7 separate regions of the Homo sapiens genome follow, and regions 1, 2, 4, 5, 6 and 7 are each linked to region 3. Evidence: promoter capture Hi-C in 16 types of primary human blood cells and fetal thymus (Javierre and others, 2016). All regions are on one chromosome and are shown on one strand. The core of a region is centred on a gene start or on the middle of the fragment in contact, and the rest is flanking DNA. Distances in the headings are between cores, read along the strand shown.

Region 1 (3,002 bases), core at 127-2,626, 450 kb after region 3:
ATGGCCAGCGGTTCTCAGCCCTGGGGCTGTCAGTCCCTTCAGGCCCCTGCCTGGGCTGAGAGGGTCCACATCTCACAGTCTCCAAGTGCACACAGGCAGTCCCATTGAGAAGCCCTACTGTGAGGCTGCTCTTTCAGGATTGACCCTCTGGAGACTGCTTCCAGCATACCTCTTTCTCACACTCCACTCCTACCAAAGCATCCTTAAAAGTGTACGGCTGGGGCACTGGACTTTAAGGGATTTGAAAAGAATAGAAGAATTGACAATGGCCAGGGTACTTCACGAAGAGGCAAAAGAGCTTTATTGTTGTATGAGGTAAAGTGGGAAGGTAAGATCAGGATCCAGGATGGGCTCTTGGGCCATGACAACAGACAAAACACCTCACAAGGTGTGTCAGCCCAAGGAAAGGAGAAAAAGGGGCAGGAGAAGCATCACTCTGGGACAGGTCCTGGTTGCAAGTTTCTCCATAAGGGTTGCTCTGTGATGTTCGAGGTCTGGTCAGCAGCAGTCCCCAGAGCTGTGGCAGCAGCCAGAGCCCCCAGAAGGTTCACACTCACAACAATCGGGGCTCTGGTGCCGGTGCCGGTGGAAGAGACGGGGCCTGTGGTGGCTCAGGCAGCAGCCGCCACCCCCAGAGCTGCAGCAGCCCCCAGAGCTGGAGCCGCAGCAGCCCCCAGAGCTGGGACCACAGCAGGAAGAGACTGGAGGTGGGCATGGGGCTGGGCACTGAGGTCGGCACTTTGGAGGACACTTGGGTGGGCATTTTGGGGGGCACTTGGGAGGGGGCTGGCACTGCTGCTGGTTTTGCTGGCAGGACATCTCAGTGCGACTTTTTCAACCTGAAATTCGAAATAGTCAAACCCTTTAGCTGTGAAAAACCAAGGATGGCAATTTTATCTCTTTTAAAACTAAATCATATGGTGATGGTGAATAATACTCAGTGTGTGTATATATATACACATACACACATATATATCAACAAGTGAAAGAAAACAAATCCTGCTGAATGAAAATATATACTTGAAAATCAGATATAATAAGAAGCTTCTTATTCTTTTAGAAGATAGGCAGTATTTTCTAATCTTCATGAGCTTGAATAAAGTATTCATACCCAACAAAGTATCCATTTTTGAAATATAAGAATAAGCCCTTGATGAAACTGTCAGATACACATTTCTCACAGCCCAAGGCAAGATTTCCAGAAACTCAAGTCAGACTGTATCTCTTTTCTGCATATAATAGCACAGAATCAAAGAAATAACTCTCTGAAGCCTCCCTTAATCTTCCCATTCCCCTGTGCCCTCTGGCTCCCAGGTTGCCACTCACCCTGGTCACACACAGGAGCACAGACACGTCCTGGGGAAGTCAGAGCAGATGAGGTGCTGGAGCTGAATATGTCTTTTATAGGCTCAGGCTTGGCTCTGGGAAGAGCGGGAAGTGGCTCTTGCACAACCAGGCACGTGCTGGGTCATTCCTCACATTCCCCTGCCTCCTTGTCCCTACAATCCAAGGAAGCACTGGGAGCTCCCAAGACCTCCCTCTGGGAAGGGGGTCTAAAGGAGCTTTAACCAGTCACAGCCCCCCCCAGGCTGGTCCCCGTGGAGCTGCCAGGGGATTCTTAAGGAGCTTGTGCCTGGACAAAGGCTCAAAGAGTGACTTCTGAGAACACCAGAGATCCTTGCCATAGCTTTCCTGTGGAAGTATGCTATTCCAGCTTCTTCCCATCCCCAAGTATAGTTTTCCAAGCCCTGCTTCCACAGCTAGGCAGGTTTCTTTGTGGCATTGAGTCAGAGACCATTTCCTTCCTAGGATACACTCCTCCCCTTCTGCTCAGCCCTCATTCCTGACCCCATGTTGCTGTGTGGCCTGCAGAACCCTGCTAGGAGGATTAATAAGTGAATCAAGATGGTTTCCTCAGATTTGGTGGTGATGATCATTGTGACTAAACTTCTTCACTTAGAAATTAAAATGTCTACTGTGTAACAAGGCAGTTTTTAAAATAAGCCAATAGTTTTTTGAATTGGAATCAGAAGAGCTCTGTGTTTATGAGCCCAGTGACCTCAAAGACTATATATAGACAATCTAAATCCTCAACTGTAAAACAGGCCTATTAGCACCTTCCTCTCTGAATTGTTGGTTCCATCAAGTGAGGCTTTTGCACATGATAAGGCACAAGGAAGACACTTAAACAATGTCATTTTTTAAAAGAACGAGGGCAGTGTGTGAGACAGAAAAATGGACAATATTCAGTCCCTGTCTTTGAAAATTTTATTTAAAAATATAGGTAGGCTAGCGAAGGCTCTCTTAGGAATGTACAGTGTACATTCAGGATTTTGAGAAGTCTAATTATTTCTTGTCAAGAAGGTGATGGGAATCAAATGATTTATTTAATCTTCTTAGTGAATGACAGGAGAGTAAGGAATCTGATACAATTTTGGATTAGATACATTCATCCATTAATCAATTTATTTCATCCATCCATCCAACATTTACTGAAAACCTACTGTATGGCATAAGTTAGAATACAGCTTTTGAAAAAGATAGTCCCTTCTTTCATATACCCTTGGTCTAGAAGGTAGGAGTATATGGTCTTTACATTTCTGTCATACTAAGAGATGCCCCATCTCCAATAGTTTTCTTTTCTAGTCTCAGATGTAGTTCCCTACCCTTGAGAGTGTTCAGGTCAAGAGTGAAAAATGTTGATATCCAAACATAGCAGTTAATCAAGAAGATACTGCTTTGTCAGCTCCTAGGTATTCAGTGATTTTCTATCCAAACACTTAGGTTTATAGAGGCAAACACTGTGTGTGTTTTGTGACCTCTAGGAATTCACAATTCAGTGGATATTCTGAAGACCTCTGTGAAATTTATGTGCATACCAAATGAGTCTATTTTCCAATGAGATTGTTGGGACACTGGATCACCTGATAATGCCTGAGGGAATGTCATGCTAGGTTCCTCATTCTCCTTGACAAAGATGATAGTAACCATGAAGGAAGAGA
Region 2 (3,098 bases), core at 242-2,741, 430 kb after region 3:
CAGGACTGACCTGGTGAATACCTACCCACTTCAGGGGGCTCCTAGCCTTTTCCCTCAGGCCTTCAACCTATAGTTTCAACAGGGCAAGCCTGTCAGATGAGAAAATGTAATTCATAAAGTCCTGCATGGGTTCAAGCCCTCTGCACAGTGGTGGAGACATGGTCCAGTGATACTGACCATGACCAGTGATACTGGTCCATGAGCAGATACAATTTCACAATCTCTCCAACACCCAGGAAGATGAGGGTCTCATCATGGTCAACCCTGCTCTGAGGCTCATCAAAGGGCAGCACAGAAACAGCCCCAACCCTCAAATCTCCATTTTCAGATGCTTCTAACTTGCGTGGGAAAGTTTATTCACAGCATTCTAGAAGGCATGGGGCTCCCAGGCTGGGATTTCACCAGCTCAGTCTGCTTGTTCATGTTCGTGCAGATCTTTCCTCTAGCTGAGAAACAAGAGTAAGAAGAGAGGGATGCAGAAGAGTGCCTGATAGAAAAGCATAAATATGGACCAAACAAACAGACAGAAATTACCACGAAATGCATTCAGAGCTTTATTCATGCCAAAGTTTGGGGACTGTACTAACTCTGGCAGGCTGCCTTGGTAGAGAAGCAAAGCACAGAGGCAAAGTGATGAGGTTCTACATCACTGGCACTAACAGAGAGGGGGCCAGAAGCTGGTGCATGTTCCAGAAGGGGTAGCGGGGCAGTGCATTCTGGAGTTGAGCTGTCGTATGTTTAGCAGCAGCAGTCATCCTCATGGTCACAGCATGCAGGACCTCGGGACCTCATGGGGATAATTCCCAAACAGCAGCACCCAGAGCTGCCACATCCACAGCTGCAGCCACAGCCCCCAGAACCACAGCATCCAGAGCTTCCCGAATTCTCACAGCAGCCAGATGATCCTGTGTTGCAGTTCTGGGGCCGCTGAATCCAGCGTCTCAGGGGACTCACCCCGAAGGTCCGGGGAGCCAGACAGCAGTAGCTGGTGGAACAGGGAGCAGAGCATGGGTCAGTGACACAGTACTGGGAGGTTGAGCCACTTGCAGGAGCTTGAACATAATAGCTCTGGCAAGGAGAAGCACCCTGGACATAGCACGTCTGGGTCTGGCAGGGAGCTGGACTTTTGATGTAGGTCATCTGGCAGGGAGCTGGGCACTTCACGTAGGTTTGGCAGGGAGTTGGGCATTTTACATAGGTTGTCTGGCAGGGAGCTGGGCACTTCACATAGGTTTGGCAGGGTGTTGGGTATTTCACATAGGTCCTCTGGCAGGGAGCTGGGCACTTCACGTAGGTTTGAGTCTGGCATGGAACTTGGTACTTCACATAAGTTTGAGTAGGGCATGGAGCAGGGCCTGTCACACAGACAGTTTGGGTCTGGCATGGAACTGGGCATTTCACAGAGGCACCATTGCTACCCTGCCCAGCCCCTAGTCCCGAACCTTTCACACAAGATGGAGGGAACTGTGGCTGCTTCTGCTGGTCACACATTGTTCTGTGGCTTTGCAAAATCTGAAAAGAAAGGTTTCATTAGAACTGTAAAACCAGGAAGGTTTCTAGGGGAAACCTTCAACATCCCCTTTGAATACAGTGATTTGCAAGCAAGGCTTTCTTGAGAAGGTTGCAGACATCCAGAGGCTGTATACTTGGCAGGAGGTGGATTCAGAGCCAGGGACTCTCAGCTCAGCTTCTGTGCCTGTACCTGGCTATGTGGCTTGGTACAAGTCATCGCTTACCTCTGGGCCTCAGTCTCTATATTGGGAAATGGAGGCTTGAAATGGTGCTGCCTGTGTTTCTACCCAACTCTCCAAGCCTCCTCTCCTCTTTCTTCAGTGTCTGCATTGTGAATTACCCTTTGGAAATTGCTGCTCCCAGATGATTGACCCCTGCCACCAGTTCTCTCCAGGGTGACTTCCCTTCTTCCTTCTGCCCAGACAAGGAATACCCAGCAAAGACAAATTTATGTCCATGGACCCTGAGCCAACATGAGCCTCAAGCTGTGCCCGGTACTGAGCAAAGAACAAGGCTAAATTTGAGCAGGTTTCTACCAGGTGCTCCTTGAACCAGCTGGACTAATCAGTTGGCCTCATTAGCACATAGACCCAAGAGAGGACTGCACAATTGCATTCAGATAAGGGGATGGGGAGCCAGTTCTCTAAAGTCCCTTCTTAAACAGGAATGCCAGCTCATCGTGTCCCCCTCCCTCTCCTCTCATGCCCCAGGCTCCAAGTTTCCCACCAGCATTGCTTTCAGCCTCCTTCAGCAGATTTCCTAAGCATCTAGTCCTCGCTCACCCTTCATCCCACAGCTCTCATCCCACCCCAGCTTCCCCAAAGCTCTGTTTCTCACCATGTCCTTATCCCGTATAGAGACTTACCCTCTTTGCTGATAGGAGCAAGACTGGAAGAAGTCAGTGATCTGAAAAACTAGCAGGTGGGGAGACCTTTTATAGGGCAGCAATGAGGCAATTTAATGGCATCTAAATGAAGCACCAGAGATCACAAGGAGAAGGGATGGTGTTGCATTGGCAAGATTCCTCCCCAGTATGCCTGGCTCCTCAGTCAGAGGCAGGGCATGTCTGTGCTTGACATTGGGTTTTCCCAAACACTAGATAAATGATTCCTGTTCCCTTCCTCAGGAAACAAGTCAGTCTCCTTTTCCTATAAGTTATGAGTGATGCCTATGTGATCTGTCTCTAATGAAGCTGTTTCCAGGTCACTTGAGTCTTCAGGACTTATCCAAGTTATAGTTAGATTCTCAATTTTTCATACACTGTGCCAAAAGCTAAGTGTAGCTCAGAGAATCAAACTAAAATTGAGAATCTAATCTAAAGCTAAGTGTAGCTTTTGGCACAGTGTATGAAAAATTGAGAATTTAACTATAGATTCACCTCACTTCACTCAGCCTAAATGAGTGTTCTGTGGGCTTCCAAGGTAACTTCTGCTGGTCTAGGTTGCTGAGCACAGTTTGGCCCAGTGGTCTCTGGCCCAATATGACACAAGACCTCCAAAAAATGGTTTGTTTCATGGAACATCAGGTTATTCTAGGTTCATTTGGAAACTGGGTGGGTGCTTAATGATCCTAGGCCCCAGGCTGGA
Region 3 (3,332 bases), core at 620-3,119:
CAGCATGCATCAGCTATGGTTCCTAGGATTTCAACATGAGAAAGAACGCTGTGAAAGTGCCTCACCCATCCCAGGAGCATCCCTGTTCCTTCTGGCATCCCTGAAGTGTGTCAGTTTCCTGATAGTAACTTAGATGACTAAATTGTTTAGTTTCAGAGTACTAGGGAGGGATAACTAGCCTCATGTTGTTCCTCTGAGATGCTGAGAAAGAATTTAATAGTAGGGCTCAACTCAAAGACGTTCCTACCTCTTCAAATTCCCATGTTAGGTCCTCAGTTTTTTTTGTTTCTCTACTGTACCAACCCAATCAAGTTTGAAACATTGCAGATACAACACAGCATTCTTCTGGGTAAAGAGCACAAGGCAAAAATCTTCCCTGAGAGGGGCTTTCTCAGGAAAACAAGGTGCCGACCCTGTAGGTGCTATGGTACCCATGCCGTCTAATTAGTAGTGACTACAGCTAGAAGAATGGGGGATGCAGGGAAAGGATCTTCACTAGATAGGCCTCACTCTAAACAATGCCATTCTTTATTATCTGTTTTTGACATGTTTGAAATTATTGGTTAGTTATGATTAGTTATTATTCTTATTTCTTCTACATTTTAGAGTTTATATTTCTTAGAAGACCCACTATGTAATGTGCATAATTTTAGGCCACTCTTTGAGTTTTTGTAGGAGACTTTTGTGGTAGGTGTATTTTTTATTTCTGTTTTACAGCTGTGTAAACTGTGTTTCAAGGAGGTTAGGAAATATTTAGTTCCACACAGTAGTGGTGGCTGTAGATGTATGCATAACCAAGGTACTCAAGTTTTTTCCAAGTTGGGACAGTGAGTAATACTAGCTGAAGTGTTAATATGGTTAAATAAGCTATACTAAGAAATTATCCGTGGGATCTGTGCCAGCTATACTTTACTTATTTAGGTAAAAACATCCATGAAGTAAACAGCAGGATAAATAGCTTTACAGAACTTCACTCCTCGAATGTGCAAAGAAAGCCTGAAATCCTACTAAATGTCATTTCAAAAGAGAGAAATTGTGAAGGAGTAAATTGAATTAGCATGTAGGAGAAAAGCTTCAAAATGGATGCAGCACATACATTAAGGCAGTTTGGAAGAAAATGGGAGAAGATGAGTTTGGATTTCTAGTAGACCACAAGTCACTCATAGTTACAAGGGCCACAGAGATGAGGTTAGTGTGTAAATCTGCAAATGTGAAGCTTTAAGAAGGGGCCCCAACATGACTCTAATGGCCTAGAAAACTGAGAGATGATGTTGCCTTGTTCAAGCCCATTAATACCATGTCAGAACACACCCAGGTTGGGGCTGTCAGCATCTAGGAAGCTGATATATGATTTTGTCACCCTGTTCAAGTCAATTAATTGTCAAGAAAAGCCTAAGGATCAATAGGCCATGATAAAAGGGGAAGTTAGTTGTAAAGAAAAACTGCAGTTGAGGGTTAGGATATAGCCAGGCTGCAGGATCAGCACATACTGGTCTCTACTAAAGAGAACACAGCTAGATACTGGGCATGTGCAACTGAATGGGAGTAGTTTTACATACAGGATACTTTGGAAGCTGGGAAGTAGGAGAAGCACCATCTCTAATTATAGGGAAGCACCACAATTGTCAGACAATTTGTCACGTTCTACAATTGCCACTGGCATGAGGAACCTGAGATAATGTCCCAAGTGAATCACTGTGCACTTATCCTGCTGGGGAGGATCATGGACTAGGAATTTTGTGATACCAGCATGGATTACATGCAAGTGGTATTTTGGTTGGGAAATAAGCACATCATGCTAGTCCTGGGCTGTTCCCTGTGTAGGGCTGCCTGCCCCTTATAAAAGGACTCTCCACCACACTGATGCTATCTTCTTGCCATTCAGTTGTAGATCTTTGAAGACTCTGGTGAGTACAAATATTAGAAGCTTTTCTTGCACTTGGATGGTGTTAGGGTCTAACCTGGGTACAGAAATGCCTGTTTATTTTAACCAATTTATCCTCATGGATAGGAAAAAGAAGATAATGAGGTCTTGAAGGTAAATTTTAGCTGGTATTTGGTAGATAAACATGAAGGTGATGAGGAACCTGGAGTCAAATATATAAAATCTTAAACTGAAGGAGAGTGAGAGACACAAGATGCTGTTCTGTCTCCTGCTTCACATCTGTTCCAAATACATCTCTCTTGGAGTGCAATCTCCTTGGGTGATGGGTGCAAGTTTTTGCAATTCTCTTAAAAAACTCATGGCTCAGCACCACAGCCAGCTCATTAAAACTGGTAACTAGGGCCTCATGGAAGATAAGAGCACAGATTTGTTTGGTATTGGCTAGACTTTTAATATCTGAGTTTTTCTTCTTCAGATAGTGTTTGTATTCAGACAACATTTGTTGCTGTCTCATAGGCAATTTTATTTTCAGAAAATGGTAGAATGAGAGAACAGCCAGAAAGACGGAAGAACTGAGGGTAAGAGGTCCTAAAAGTGAAGTGTGAAGAAGGTTCACAAAGTCATAAAGACTGTATTAGGGATCAAAGTTGGTCCCTAGATACTGGAGATTTGATGTCCTAGCTAATTGCTCCACCAACAGGACTGTCTCTCTTATGAGCACTGTTTCGTATGTATCTTTCAGATTCTCTGAGACTGAGGAGAGATGTCTTACCAGCAGCAGCAGTGCAAGCAGCCCTGCCAGCCACCTCCTGTGTGCCCCACGCCAAAGTGCCCAGAGCCATGTCCACCCCCGAAGTGCCCTGAGCCTTACCTGCCTCCTCCTTGTCCACCTGAGCATTGCCCACCTCCACCATGCCAGGATAAATGCCCTCCTGTGCAACCATACCCACCCTGCCAGCAGAAGTATCCACCCAAGAGCAAGTAACATCACTAGAATTCATCAGGACCATGAAACAACAAGATCCAGTGGCTCTTCTTACTCCCAGGACTCCATCATCTTCCCTTCAGCTGTAGTGGGAGGCTGCATCTTCCCTAACCTCTGTCTGGCTTGAGCGTTGACAGAGAAAAGGCTTAGTTCTGAAAACCGATATGTTGTTGGAAGATGAGCAGCCAGATCACTGCCTAATCTCGCTTTGCTGTCTGTGATGTAGATGGTGGTTCCTATCCTGAGAGCAAGTGTGTTTATTCTTTTGCTTCTCCCCAATAAAGCACATGTTTCATGGTCAAGCCCACATTGCTTTTGTTTGCATTTCGTGTCTTTAACCTCTTCTGTTAACTACACCAAGTGAATGTTCCTTTTCATTCCTATTGAATTATTAGAATTATTAGGCTTTTCCATCACTGAATTCAGTGTTGCGTGCAATGTGTGTTTTGGATTCGGTACAAC
Region 4 (3,053 bases), core at 67-2,566, 500 kb after region 3:
TCAATTTCTTTTTTCTTGTCTTTTGATTCAACTTCTTTTCATATTCAGTATATTTATAATACTTTTTTTAAAAAAGTATTGGTCAGGGGCAAAAAGTGCTGATGAATTAAGAATTTACTTCATAGAACATCAAAGAATCTTATGTATTCATTTTAAACAATGGTGAATTATTTCTAATACCTCTGATGTTAGTGGAATCTTTTTAAATGCTTGTGACTTTATGTTTTTATCATTTAGGCCTGTGAATTCATATTCTGCTGGGGAGTATTAGAGATTCTGACTGGAAATAATTACGAGGGAAAGGCTCCAGTGTCTCTGTCAAGCCCCCAGTGAGGTCAAGGCCCCACTTTATAGTCCAAGCATCAGGAAACCAGCTCATCAGGTGAGGACTTTACCTCGATACTTCTCCTTCCCCCTCCCTGGCAAAAAATATTACCTACCTTTTAGATTGTAGTCTACCACCTTCTAGGGGGTCGGAGAAAGAAGGATGAGGATGTGAAACTCAAACTAATTTAATTCCCAACCATTTTCCTGAGTTCTTCACAGGAGCAGGGTTTCTCTATGTTTCCCTGGCTTTACTCAAGAGGGGACTTAATCCTCCATGGTAGCTCCCTGACCACCATACCCTGGGATCTGAAAATAGTTGAAAGGAAAACTTGGCAAGAACTCTCATCCTTAAGGATGAGAAATATTTTTAAATAGAGGAGTCCCAATTCCAGAATAGGCAAACAAACAAACAGCAACAACAACAAATACCCAGAAAACCCACCCTGGCAAGACTAATCTAGGTTAAAAAAAGAGAAGTTATCATCAAATATTATAAATTAAAAAGTTATGTATCTTCATAACAATAATAAAGCAGAGAACAAAATATAAAAATGAAAGACTGTCAATAACTATACACTGCCAACGTTGAAAGCTTAGACAAAATGGAAAACATACATTAAAAAGTATAATCTAGTAAAATAAGCTCAAGAAGAGACAAAAAGTATGAATTCTCTTATAACTAGTTGAGAAACTAAAGTACTATTAAGAAACATAGAAAACAATGGCCAAAATTGTTTTCTAGGCGAACAGTACAAAACTATAAAGGAGTAGATCGTTTCAAATTTATTTAAGGATATTGGGCATAAAAATTCAATCATTTTGAAAAACAGATTAGCTCTCCATTATAAATTTAAATTCTTAGCTACTAAATACACCAAGATTCAGCAATTCTGCTCCTAGAAGACATGTACAAGAATGCTTAGAGTAAACATCTGAAAACCACAAAACTGCCAAATCCAGAGATGTCCTTTGGTTTTGCACAGACACACTTACCAGGATGAGTCTCAGAATTAGCTCAGGCTGCAGAGGTGTCCAAAAGGAGGAAGAAGAAGAACCAGGGACACCTTTCATAGGAGGAGTCCCCAGGCTGGGCTCAGAAATGAGCCTTGTCTCTGGAAAGAGCAGGAGAAAATCTCTCACAACCAAGGAACACTTAGGGCCATTCCTGACATTCTCCTTCCAAAAGAGCTGTAGGAGCACTCCAGCCTCTCAATGGGGCCCAAGACCTGTGGGCCTTCAACGAGCCACACCCTTTCCCAAATATAAGCCTCAGATAGCCTGAGATCCCAAGAACCTGGTCACTGGGCTGAGGCTCTAAGGCCTGGGTCGCTGCGTGCCAGTCCCTTCTCATGAAATAGGTGGTCACATCTTTCTTGCCAAGCTTTGTGAGGTGGGGCTTAGATGAGACAAATAGGAAAGAGAGGATAGAAAACTTTAAGAGAGTTTTTTCAAAAGAATCTACAAGACTGGATGTCCCTTTGTGTATATGTGATGGGGAAAAGGGATAGATCAAAGATTATACCAAATGTCTTGACCAGATATCAAATGTCTTGACCAGAGAAATAATCATATGGTGGAAAGAGAACAAATATTGGGAGGGGTGTAGATTTGAGGTCCTAGCAAGACCTTCTGATGAATGAAGAGGTTCTGGAGACATTTAGAGATACCACCTTGGAGGTTATTGATTCCCAGTCTAAAGGGACTTGGAGATAAACTTCTGAAATCATCACCCTGGCATTCATCATTATTTACTCATCCATCTAACATAATTATTTATTTATTTGAACAACCACTTTACGGGGACCCAAGAGGATGAAAACAGGGTTTCTTTACTCAGCAGCTCTCACATTCTGATAGGATCAGAATTATAGAAATAAACACACATATCTTATAATGTTTTAAAATACTAGTAAGAAATCTTATGGAGTAGGGACAACTTTGTGAAATAGTATGCTGTTTCATATGCATTTCAGTACATGGAACAGTGAGAAGGCACACTAAATACTTGGACACCGGTGAGTGTAATGAAGTGCTTCTCTATCCCCTGCCACCAAAAACCAGGGGAATTGGCTTTTTTGTGCTTTTGTACCCACCGCCAATTAAGTATATAAGTGTGTGTGTGTGTGTGTGTGTGTGTGTGTACATGCATGGATGATGGATGCACACACACACACACCACATGTAAATGCCCATACACTTCAGTCCTGCCTCTCACTCCATCATGGTTGCTACAAACATCTCTTCACAGAGAATGAGGAAACTCAGGCTGACAACACCAAAGAAAAATTTGGACTAATGAAAGTATCTCACATATCTCATTGCAAAGTAGTGATTCAGGAGATGAAATTCAGAGCCACCTGCTTTGGACCTCATGGGCTTTTCTCATGCAAAGAAGTGCTTCAGAGATTCTAGTGGACTGTGAGCTTCTCAAGGTTAGAGGTTGTGTCTGATTCACATCCAAATCCCAAATTCCAGACTGATGTCCACAGACCTCATCTGGTGTGCTAAATGAATGTCCATTTAACCAAACACTTTGTTCATTTTTTAAATCTATTTTACATTTGGCCTGAAAGCTTGTGGAGGGTAGGGACCTTGTCTGAAAATAGGTAATAAATAAATAGAGAATGGAGCACCTCTAAAAGAGACTTTTAGAGGTCATATGTTTCTCCTTATTTGGGAACCTCAGTGAGGGAGTGGCCACTGCCATTTAGTTCACAGCTTTATTC
Region 5 (3,226 bases), core at 538-3,037, 480 kb after region 3:
ATCTAACACTGTGAGGAACTGAAGCCAGGTGTCCAAGGCAGCAAGTCAAAAGGCTGATCTTAACCAGACTCATGAAAAGAAGCTGAGTGACCATGGGCTGTACTTTACAGGAGGAAGGGTCTCAACATCTGTTTCAAGCATTTTATCCAACTATTGATTCTAAGGGCAGGAAAGTTTTGCTTCATAGGGATGTGTTCTTCTCCCTAGAGAAGAACAAGTCTGCAGAGCTTCCCAACCTTCCCAACGTCTGGATTACACAGAAAATTAGAACATGTGTCTGGCTTAGTGGAGAGAAAGGCAAAGCTACCATAGCCAGAGGTGACCCTCTTGGAGCTCCATTCACTCAGCATCTGGGGGAATCAGTTCCTCAGAGCAGCTTTTCATGTATCACCTACTCATGTCCTGTCCTAGCCTCATGAAGAAAATTACTCTGAGGCCCTGACCTTTGGAGGACATTTGAAATCTCAGAAGAGAAGAGAATGACCAAGACATTTAGTGAGTCAGAGATCAGAGCTTTATTATAACATGAGGTAAAGGAGGAAAAGAAGACTTGCAATTGGGGTGTTACATCAAGCACGAAGTTCTTCCAGGAAAGCCCCATGAGTCTTTGTGGTCTCTGCCAACCAATGAATGGAATGAGAGGAAGTGGAAAGAGTATCCATCAGGCCGTAGCAGGTTCTTGGCCATTCAGTCCCAAGAGCTCTTCTGTAGCCCAGGTCAGCAGCAGCCCCCAGAGCTGTGGCAGCAGCCAGAGCCCCCAGAAGGTTCACTCTCACAGCAGTCGGGGCTCTGGTGCCGGCGCCGGTGGAAGAGACGGGGCCTGTGGTGGCTCAGGGAGCAGCCACCAGCCCCAGAGCTGCAGCAGCCCCCAGAGCTGGGACCACAGCAGCTCCCAGAGCTGGGACCACAGCAAGAAGAGACTGCAGGGAAACATGGAGCTGGGCACTGTGGTGGGCATTTGGGGGGACACTTAGGTGGACATTTTGGGGTACACTTGGGAGGACACTTGGGAGGGGGCTGGCACTGCTGCTGGTTTTGCTGGCAAGACATGCTGGCAGGAGTTTAGTCAACCTGAAAGATAATAATGAAACTCTTTAAATATTTCAAACCAAGGATCATATTATACCTCTTCTAAAATCAATGCATGTGTAGAAGAAGAATGATATTTAGATAATACAATCACATCAGTAACCTGAAAGAAACAACTTGAATCTTTCCTCTAGATAAAAGTACGTAGATAAAAAATCAACAGAATGAGCTTCTTACTCTTCCTTTCAGGGGAAACTGCGATTGCTCTATCCTCACAAGCCCGAATAGAGTATTCACAGCTCCCTGAAGTACCTATTCCTTTAATACAAGCCCTAAGGACAAGCTGGGTGTTGCAGGACATACCAAGGGGTCCTCTGGAAAATATTTTGCAATGAAACCTCCAGATAAAAGAGCCTGGCTTGAAGTATTTGCCAGTTTCCATGGTGTAAATATGCCCAACACAGCAGTTTTGAAGTTACCAACATGAAGTCACTGAACACAGAATTGGAAAAGATGTGCACAGTTAGCTTTCCCCACCTATATGAGCTCCGGTAGGCCTCAGAGCCTCAACAGATTCGAGGCAGGCTGAGTCCCATTCCTGCTCAGTATGGCAGAACACAAGCACACAACTCTTTCTCCAGCCTACCTCCATCCTCCCCATCCCTCTGCCTTGCTCATACCCCTCTGGTATCCCAGGTTGCCACTCACCCTGGTCACACGCAGGAGCACAGACACGTCCCTGGGGAGTCAGAGCAGATGAGATGCTGAAGCTGGATGTGTCTTTTATAGGGCCCAGGCTTGGCTCTGGAAAGAGCAGGAGGTGGCTCTTGCACAACCAGGCACACGCTGGGTCATTCCTGACATTCTCCTGCCTCTTAGTCCCTGCAATCCAAAGAGGCCTCAGGAGCTTCCAGGACTCCTCTCTGGGGCTGCAGTCTAGAGAGGCTGTAGCCAGTCAGAGCCTCCACCAGGTGGGAACCCTAAAGAGTTAACTTAGGGTACCCAAGGGACCCACACCTGGACAAGATTCTGTTCCCTGCATTTTTTTAATGCATGTCCTCTGAGGAAACATCAGTTCTGAGCCACAGCTTTCCCTGACCTTGTGGAAATGTTCCATTATGACTCCCTCCACCCTGAGCAGTTTCTCTTCCATGTCCTGCTGTGGATCCAGCCATCCCAGAGGGCTTCTACAGCCTTGGCTTTTTCTAGGCATCCCTCCCTTGCCTAGGCTCTCAGCCCTTCCTCCTGGCCTCTGTGTTTCTGCTTTTCCTCCGACTCACCATGGCAAGCAGATTCGGTGGATTAAATCTGAGTTGATTCTGTCACCTAAAGCAAGGAGAATGATTGAGAATAAACAATTCCCTCTAAAATCTAAACATTTCCTTCAGTCAGAGGACTTGTATTGAATGTGCTACTGGAATCAGAAAACTTGCATATGATAACTGGGTAATCTCTGAAAGTTGCTGTAACAATTATCAATAATTGCTAGAGTATTACTATGATACTCACTGTGAGTATCAGTTCTCACATATAATGCCCATTATAAACCTATCAGTGAGATATACCTATCTCACTGAGCTGTTTGTAATATAAAGTGAGAAGCAAGAAAGAGCTAAGTATGACATTTTGTGCCTGATAGACCCTTAATAAATATATGTTTAATAGAAAAACTAATGCCATGTATTGGATACTTGCCCCGGTCTTATGTGTCATTAATTGCCCATATAGAGCCCTTACCCTCAGAGAGCTTAACTCCACCAGACACTTAGATTATTTGAAACCTGTCTTGGGAAGTAGACATCATTTCTTGGGGCTCCTATGCAGAGGGAACTCCTTTCCTACCAGGAAGTAGAGGGTCAGCCAGGAATCTAGTTATTCAGAGTTCTGATTCAGGGTTGCACTAGACAGAGTTACCCAGTCATTTATTCATTTAGTTTAAACAGATACATTGAGTGTGAACCTTGAAAACATTACACTACGTGAAAGAAGCCAGTCACAAAAGACTGCATATTGTATGATGTTATTTATATGAAATGTGTAGAGTAGGCAAATCTCTGGAAATAGAAAGGGGATGAGGCTTTAGCCAGTTACAGCCTCTCCCAGGCTGGACCCCTGAAGAGCTGACTCAGGGCATCCGAGGAACAAGAGCCTGGATGAGATTCTGTTCCCTGTATCTCCTTTTATGTTTATGCCTGTC
Region 6 (3,103 bases), core at 204-2,703, 350 kb after region 3:
CAGAATCAGAAGGAAGAGGAAGTCAAGGTCCACTTCAGCAGCAGCCTCCAGAGTGCTGGCTGCTGCCCCCACCGCAGCAGCTGGAGCCCCCCGAGGGCTGGCTGCAGCAGTCAGAGCTCTGGGGTCTGCGACGGTGGGACCTGTGGCGCCTGTGGTGGCTCAGGCAGCAGCCACCACCCCCAGAGCTGCAGCAGCCCCCAGAGTTGGAGCCACAGCCGCCCCCAGAGCTGGAGCCACAGCAGCCTCCGGAGCTGACACTGCAGCAGGAAGAGACTGGAGGGCACTTAGGGGGACATTTAGGGGCGGGGCACTTGGGAGTGCACTTGGGAGTGCACTTGGGAGGGGGCTGGCACTGCTGCTGGCTCTGCTGGCAGGACATCTCGGTGGTGGGTGTTCAGGAGCTGAGGGAGAGTCAAATAACAAGTCAGACCCAGGCAGAGGCCACCTCTGCCCCTGTGACACTCTTAGCACCTCTCAAGTTTAAAAGCATCATCTTCAGTAGTTTTATTTCCAATAATTTCCTCAAAATCTCACATCATCTTTTTCAAGATATCTTTGGATGTCAGACAACTGTAAACTAAGACTAAACAATATTGCAAAATGCATCTAAGATTCTGATGTGTTGTCAGTGGAGGAAGAAATTATTACAAATATATCTTAAGACTGAAATTGTCTAATTTATGAGTCATTTAAGAGAAAATTATTTTTAAAGGAGAAGAAGCAGTCATTCTCTCTGGTCATAATTTGCAAGACGATTTTACTTTGGAAGGTCAGCATTGTGCAGGATCTTGGAGACTACTAGGTCAGTAAACTCACTTCAATAGAGACAGATAAACTTAGCAGTTTCTGCAGACTAGTACTTGAACCCTGACCCCCTGATCTCAGGTTGGAGCTCAGACTTCCTCACTCACCACCTGCTCAGGCTGATGGGATGACACGGTGGGTCTCAGGCTTGGTGTGTCCTAACCAAGCTGGGAAGTTTGTGAACAAATCTCAGACCCATGAAAATGTGGGGTTCATAAACCCCAAAGAGTCTTTAGTCCCATGTCCACAGCTCCAGTTCTTCCCTTGCAGGCAGAGACAGGGTTGTATCTTCAGAGGTGGGCTTCCCTCCTGTGGGCTGCCAGAGTGGAGCAGGTCTCTGTGCTTCAAAGTTCCCACTCTGGAACACCCACCTCATCCCAGAGCAGTTTGTTTCCTCTAGAGTTCAAAGGCACATGGCACAGCCCGCCAGCTCTTTTCCTCTTTTCCTTCCTGCTCCCAGTTAGTGCCAGACCCCTTTTGGCCCCCGCCCCTTCAGTCTTTTCTAAACTCTCCACCTCTGACAACATGGCCCTAGCCCCGGAGGCCCTGCCCCTCCTTCCCTCCTGCTCTGTTCTGAGCATCCCTGCTCTGTTCTTACCGGAGTCACAGGCAGCACAGGGTTCTTTAGCACCTCAGGAGGTGAGTGGATGGGGTGGTCTGGCCCTGAGCCCTTTTATCCTGGCCTGGGCTCTGCCCCAGCTGTGAGACAGGGCCTGGGCATGAGAGGACCTTCCTTCTGACACCCACGTGGGTCTTGTGATGGTTGGTGACTGACAGCTCCTCACCTGCCTCTCTCCCCAGGCTCAAGGCAGCCACTCCCAGGTAGGAAAGTGCCTACTTGAAACGGGGTTCCAGGATGACTCCTACCATCACCTACCTCATTCACTTGAAGGCTGCTTGCCCTGAGAGCCTCTCAGTTCTCAGTCTTAGAACTTAGGACCTATCTCATTTCTGTCTCTTCCGAAGTACCTGATGCTCCGTGCAGCCTGGGTTGAAGTTGAAGTACTAATCCCTGAGGTTTCCATGCATGTTTATTTCTGTCCCTGTGCACCACCAAACTGTGTGGCTGTGGGTGCAGTGTAGACATCTACACAAGTAAAACCCTGGAAGTATAACCCGGCCCAGGACCAGGCCCTGCGAGATGGGACTGTTGAAACTATTTAGCCTGTACCATTTTTTAAACCATAAAGCTGGAAGATGAAAAAGAATTAGTTACAGAAGAATTAGTTGGTTGTGAAAGTCAATAAAGTAACACAAAAAAGAGAAAATGTGCCTGACAGAGAGACTGAAACATTGTAGGCTCTGAATAAGTGAAACATTCATAACTTGCTGAATACAGAATGAAGATACTGATCTTTGTTTAACAAACGAAGCACAGCTTTTTTCTAATGAGAGTGAGTCTGGCTGTTTGGTGATCTGTTTGCTTTTAAATAGCCCTTTTCTTCTGGTGGGGTCCTTGATGTGTCAGCACTGAGATGTGAACAAGGAAGCAGCTCATTAGAGAAACAAGAAGCAGCAGCTCTGCTCTTTGTATTGGTGTGAGAATTTGGACTTTTCTGGGTTCACACTGGGAGCACCGGATGATGGTCACAGATGAGAAACAGGAAGAAAAGAGACATGGTTGTGAGACATTATAAGTCTACGCTTCCATGTGGGGTCAAATGGCTGGCAGAACCCCGTCCTGGACCATAAGGGGACGGGTGCCTTTTAAGAACAAGAGTCCTTAATATTTAATGTGAATGTGTTTATGCTGCTACTTTGGAAGCCCCTCTCCTCTCTCTCCACTAGAATCACTAGCTTTCTACATGTCCACAGGATTTATATGAATGGAGTGTTCTGAATTTATACATTTTTAGGATATTAATGAAATGGGCTGCTGTTCATTCTAGGACACACTAGTCACTAAGACAGCCATGACTGCAAGGTTATCCACAAATTAAACTATTTCTTCAGAGGAAGACCAAGAAAAGCCAGATTAAACCATATGAGGGACAAGTCCTCTTCTTCCCAGCCCCTGACAGACTCTGGATATGCCCAGAACTTGGGAATGATATCTAGGTCAAAATGGACATGGTGACCCTAACCAAAACGTGGTGGAGATACATGTATATTTATAAACACATATACAGAGCATACATATTGAGAGAGATGTATATGTGTGTGTACCACCTGTCTCAGAGCATCAATTATTACAGCTGCCCAGACTCCTGTGATAACGTAGTATCTCCAAACACTGTAGTGTGTCTTTGATTCTGTTCTTTTATGACATCCAAGAAAACATCTTCCATCCCTGTACATA
Region 7 (3,285 bases), core at 727-3,226, 390 kb after region 3:
CTGGAGCACATTCTACGAAGCAAGTCTGAACAGGTTGTGACGCTTCGCACTGCACGTAGGACACCTCAGATTGGCATGGAGCCTGGCTTTGAACAGAGGAAGTTTGAGATTGGGATGCAGCCTGGCCCTTCACCTGGGTGGTCTTAGACTGACATTGAGCCTGGCCCTTCACCTGCTTGGTCTTAGACTGGCACTTCACCTGTGTGGTCTGAGACTGGCATGGAGCCTGGTCTGACACCTGGCAAACTTGAACTGGGCATGATGCAGGGCAGTCCACAATTTGCATCTCACAAGGGGCTTGAACCACCACTTGGCTCTGGGCAAAGGGGGATTGAGAGGAGCAGAAGGAGGGACCCTTGACGCAGCACTGTTGGAGCGGCAGGCGGCACTGGATCTGCTGCTGGTCACACATGGTCCTGATGCAGCCAGTCAAGAGTGACCTGAGGGCAAAGAGACCAGGGTCAGGAGGGTGAGAGTTGGAGAGGGGGTGCCAGGACCTAGAGGAAGACACCCTGCATCTTCCCTAGCTTTTCTTCCTCCACCCTCAACTTTCATCCAAGTGTCCTGACTTAGTTCGACCCAGGATTAATCTGTTAGACCTGCCCTGGGTCTGTCAAAGGGCACATCCAGGGTTGCAGATGTCCAGGATCTCCCTGGGGGTGGACCTACCAATGCCCAGAAAAGAGGGCACTGATGACAAAAGGATTCTCCTTTCGTCTCCACACTTTCTCACATCCAATGTGGTCTGAGCAGCCCTACAGGAAGTAGAGATAACAACTTGCTCCTAAGGCTATAGCCCAAAGTGGAAACTCCATTCCCACAGGAGCTTGGATTTACTCACACATGTGCACTGGCAGTACACATAAATGTGCAAACATGTAAGAACGTACATATGAGAATAAGCACTCAGCACCATCTGCATTCACAAAATGTCAAAGCATTCACTGGAAAGCGGGCAGCTCAAACCCAACATTAAATGTTTGTTTCTCTATATTCAATGTTTTTAGATAAATTCATTTAAACATGATACAATGTTTTGAAATAAATTCATTTAAACATGACACAATGTTTTGAAATAAATTCATTTAAACATGACACGTGCAAAGTGTGCCCATGCAAAACACACCAGCCTTGGAAAGACTCTGACCACCATGGCAACTTGCCCAGTCAGGTTGCTGTTGCTAATCACCTGAAGTGTGACAGTCTGCAGGCCTCAGAAATGTTTTTCCCCAGCTCTTCTTAGAGGCAAGGTGGAGTTACCTAAGATGGAGTAAGCCAGAAAGTCCAAGGTTCTTAATCAGAAGACGGACATTCTGCCATACTTAAAGATCTACGCAGCTGGGGCATTGCAAACATAACGTGAGGGCTGCAGGCATACACCCTGACACCATGCTTAGCTGGGGAGAGCACAGGGCAGCCTCACTCGTCTGCTTGTGTCAGATGCACGTGTTTATGTGCAGGCAGCCCACTGACCAGCAAAACAAGATCATTTGACAACAGGCTCATCCAACAAACCGTCTTTCAATAAGCTCCCCAAATGCTCCTGATGAGGGTTCAAACCTTCTATTTTCAATTTGTAGAGAATACCTACATATCTATTTCCCTGGGGAAGGTAACCCTTCCACACACAACTTTGCTCATAAGGTGTAAATTGCTAATGTGGCTTTTCCAGAAAGATCATGAGGGAAAATAGTACCTGAGGATAAGGTCAGGGTTATCAAAGGCAAATACACTAGCTTCACAGCCCTAGCTCATCTCGTAAACTCTGTAGCTATGCTTCTGTCTCCTAAAAGCTCACCAGACTTTTCTCCTCAGGTTAATGCACCCCTCGCCCTCCCTGGTGCCTAGCTTCTCCCTTCTTTGTGCCTCACGACTGTGAACCTGGGCTCTCCCCTGAACATCACATCCACCCCGATCCCAGGATCCAGTTCCTAGACTCACCCTCCTCACAGGCAAGCAGTCCTTCAGGCTGAGGCATCTGGGAAGAGGGCTGTCTTTATATAAAGGGTTCTGGGTCTGGCTTGGGCCATGAGACAGCTGGTTGGCATCCGCCTGGTGCATCAACCGGGCTGGCATTCCAGCAGCTGGTTCCCTCCCTGTGTGCCTGCCCTTGCCGTCACCTACAGAGTGTGGGAGTGGCTTGTCTTAGTGTTGAAGCCTCAGGACTATGAATAGCAGATTCTTATTTTCTTCCTCCTTCATTGCCCTAACAGTTTCTCCTCCATCCCTAGAAGACCTGATGGTCGGGAGATGAGGAGTGACAAAGGTATCTTCTCTCCTAAAAGATGATTGTATCTGCCAACTTCCACTTTGCTTCAGATTCTTACCAGAGTGACATAAAAGAGGAAGTGTTTTCTAACCTGAAGTAATTTAAGTTACTTCAAAGATAGAGGCAACTCTATAGAAGGATGAGCCCATGGGGCCAAAGGTGAGTCTAACATCCCAGGCCGTGTACTTATAGCTATGCAACCTTTATAAACAATCTGAGTATCAAATTACTCTTCTGCAAAAGAGAGATAATTAAATCTTCCTTCCTGATTGTTGTGAGGATTAAGGCAAAAAACCAAACACCGCGTGTTCTCACTCATAGGTGGGAATTGAACAATGAGAACACACGGACACAGGAAGGGGAACATCACACACTGGGGACGGTTGTGGGGTGGGGGGAGGGGGGAGGGATAGCATTAGGAGATATACTTAATGCTAAATGACGAGTTAATGGGTGCAGCACACCAACATGGCACGTGTATACATATGTAACAAACCTGCACGTTGTGCATATGTACCCTAAAACTTAAAGTATAATAAAAAAAAATTCATCCAAGAATGATGTTTAAACTATCCCAAATCCACTCAGGGTAAATGCTGGCCATAAGCCACAGGCACTGCTGAGTCATGGGTGCCTGCTGCCTCCCCATCCTGAGCTGAGCAAGTGGATGCCTGCACAACAGGTGCTCAGTCAATGCTGCAGAGCAGTATTTGAAGGCAGCACCAGGCAGGTAGTGCTGTGGAGTAGCCCTTAAAGGCAGCACAGTGCAGGGCAGAAATAATAATCTGGTACTCTGTGAGCCACATAGAGTCAAAATGGACAGCTCTTTATGTTTTCCCTCATAATACTGTCATTAATTGTTAGTATTTAAAAATAGGCAGATTTTATTAAAGATTCCAGAAATTCAGATTTTCTTCTGAAATAAAAAGATCTAGCATAGTTGAACATACCTTCCATTATCCTGATTAGCAGCTGCCCACCTTAGATAGGGCATTGCTATAGTTTGCGTGTTTATC

Evidence for each region. The method cuts DNA at HindIII sites, captures the fragments that hold promoters and counts their contacts. A CHiCAGO score of 5 or more calls a contact.
Region 1: a contact is called between the fragment with the promoter of LCE2A here and the fragment with the promoter of SPRR2G in region 3, in 4 of 17 cell types (M1 macrophages, M2 macrophages, endothelial precursors and 1 more). The highest score is 8.8, in M1 macrophages.
Region 2: a contact is called between the fragment with the promoter of KPLCE here and the fragment with the promoter of SPRR2G in region 3, in 6 of 17 cell types (M0 macrophages, M1 macrophages, endothelial precursors and 3 more). The highest score is 12.1, in M0 macrophages.
Region 4: a fragment that was not itself captured here is called in contact with the fragment with the promoter of SPRR2G in region 3 in 1 of 17 cell types (M0 macrophages); the score reaches 5.3 in M0 macrophages.
Region 5: a contact is called between the fragment with the promoter of LCE2C here and the fragment with the promoter of SPRR2G in region 3, in 16 of 17 cell types (M2 macrophages, M1 macrophages, M0 macrophages and 13 more). The highest score is 24.3, in M2 macrophages.
Region 6: a contact is called between the fragment with the promoter of LCE1D here and the fragment with the promoter of SPRR2G in region 3, in 7 of 17 cell types (endothelial precursors, M2 macrophages, fetal thymus and 4 more). The highest score is 22.3, in endothelial precursors.
Region 7: a contact is called between the fragment with the promoter of KPRP here and the fragment with the promoter of SPRR2G in region 3, in 4 of 17 cell types (M0 macrophages, M2 macrophages, erythroblasts and 1 more). The highest score is 8.0, in M0 macrophages.

The regions. Positions count from the first base shown.
Region 1 is chr1:152,696,719-152,699,720 of GRCh38, reverse strand. It overlaps LCE2A (late cornified envelope 2A), which reads right to left and starts at 1,376. Exons shown (of 2, transcript NM_178428.4): 1 at 1,327-1,376; 2 at 279-839. The coding sequence starts at 819. The coding sequence ends at 499. The HindIII fragment of the contact is 4,015 bases long and covers 1,047-3,002 here.
Region 2 is chr1:152,717,915-152,721,012 of GRCh38, reverse strand. It overlaps KPLCE (KPRP N-terminal and LCE C-terminal like protein), which reads right to left and starts at 1,491. Exons shown (of 1, transcript NM_001024679.3): 1 at 543-1,491. The coding sequence starts at 1,491. The coding sequence ends at 739. The HindIII fragment of the contact is 5,275 bases long and covers 1-3,098 here.
Region 3 is chr1:153,149,427-153,152,758 of GRCh38, reverse strand. SPRR2G (small proline rich protein 2G) reads left to right here and starts at 1,869. Exons shown (of 2, transcript NM_001014291.4): 1 at 1,869-1,907; 2 at 2,628-3,177. The coding sequence starts at 2,649. The coding sequence ends at 2,870. The HindIII fragment of the contact is 711 bases long and covers 1,219-1,929 here.
Region 4 is chr1:152,646,460-152,649,512 of GRCh38, reverse strand. No RefSeq gene overlaps it. Among named protein-coding and RNA genes, the nearest start is that of LINC00302, 7.5 kb to the left of the region's middle. The HindIII fragment of the contact is 789 bases long and covers 922-1,710 here.
Region 5 is chr1:152,673,840-152,677,065 of GRCh38, reverse strand. It overlaps LCE2C (late cornified envelope 2C), which reads right to left and starts at 1,787. Exons shown (of 2, transcript NM_178429.5): 1 at 1,738-1,787; 2 at 497-1,071. The coding sequence starts at 1,050. The coding sequence ends at 718. The HindIII fragment of the contact is 8,836 bases long and covers 1-3,226 here.
Region 6 is chr1:152,795,071-152,798,173 of GRCh38, reverse strand. LCE1D (late cornified envelope 1D) reads right to left here and starts at 1,453. Exons shown (of 2, transcript NM_178352.3): 1 at 1,403-1,453; 2 at 1-401. The coding sequence starts at 379. The coding sequence ends at 35. The HindIII fragment of the contact is 8,213 bases long and covers 1-3,103 here.
Region 7 is chr1:152,756,716-152,760,000 of GRCh38, reverse strand. KPRP (keratinocyte proline rich protein) reads right to left here and starts at 1,976. Exons shown (of 2, transcript NM_001025231.3): 1 at 1,942-1,976; 2 at 1-440. The coding sequence starts at 412. The HindIII fragment of the contact is 4,639 bases long and covers 1-3,285 here.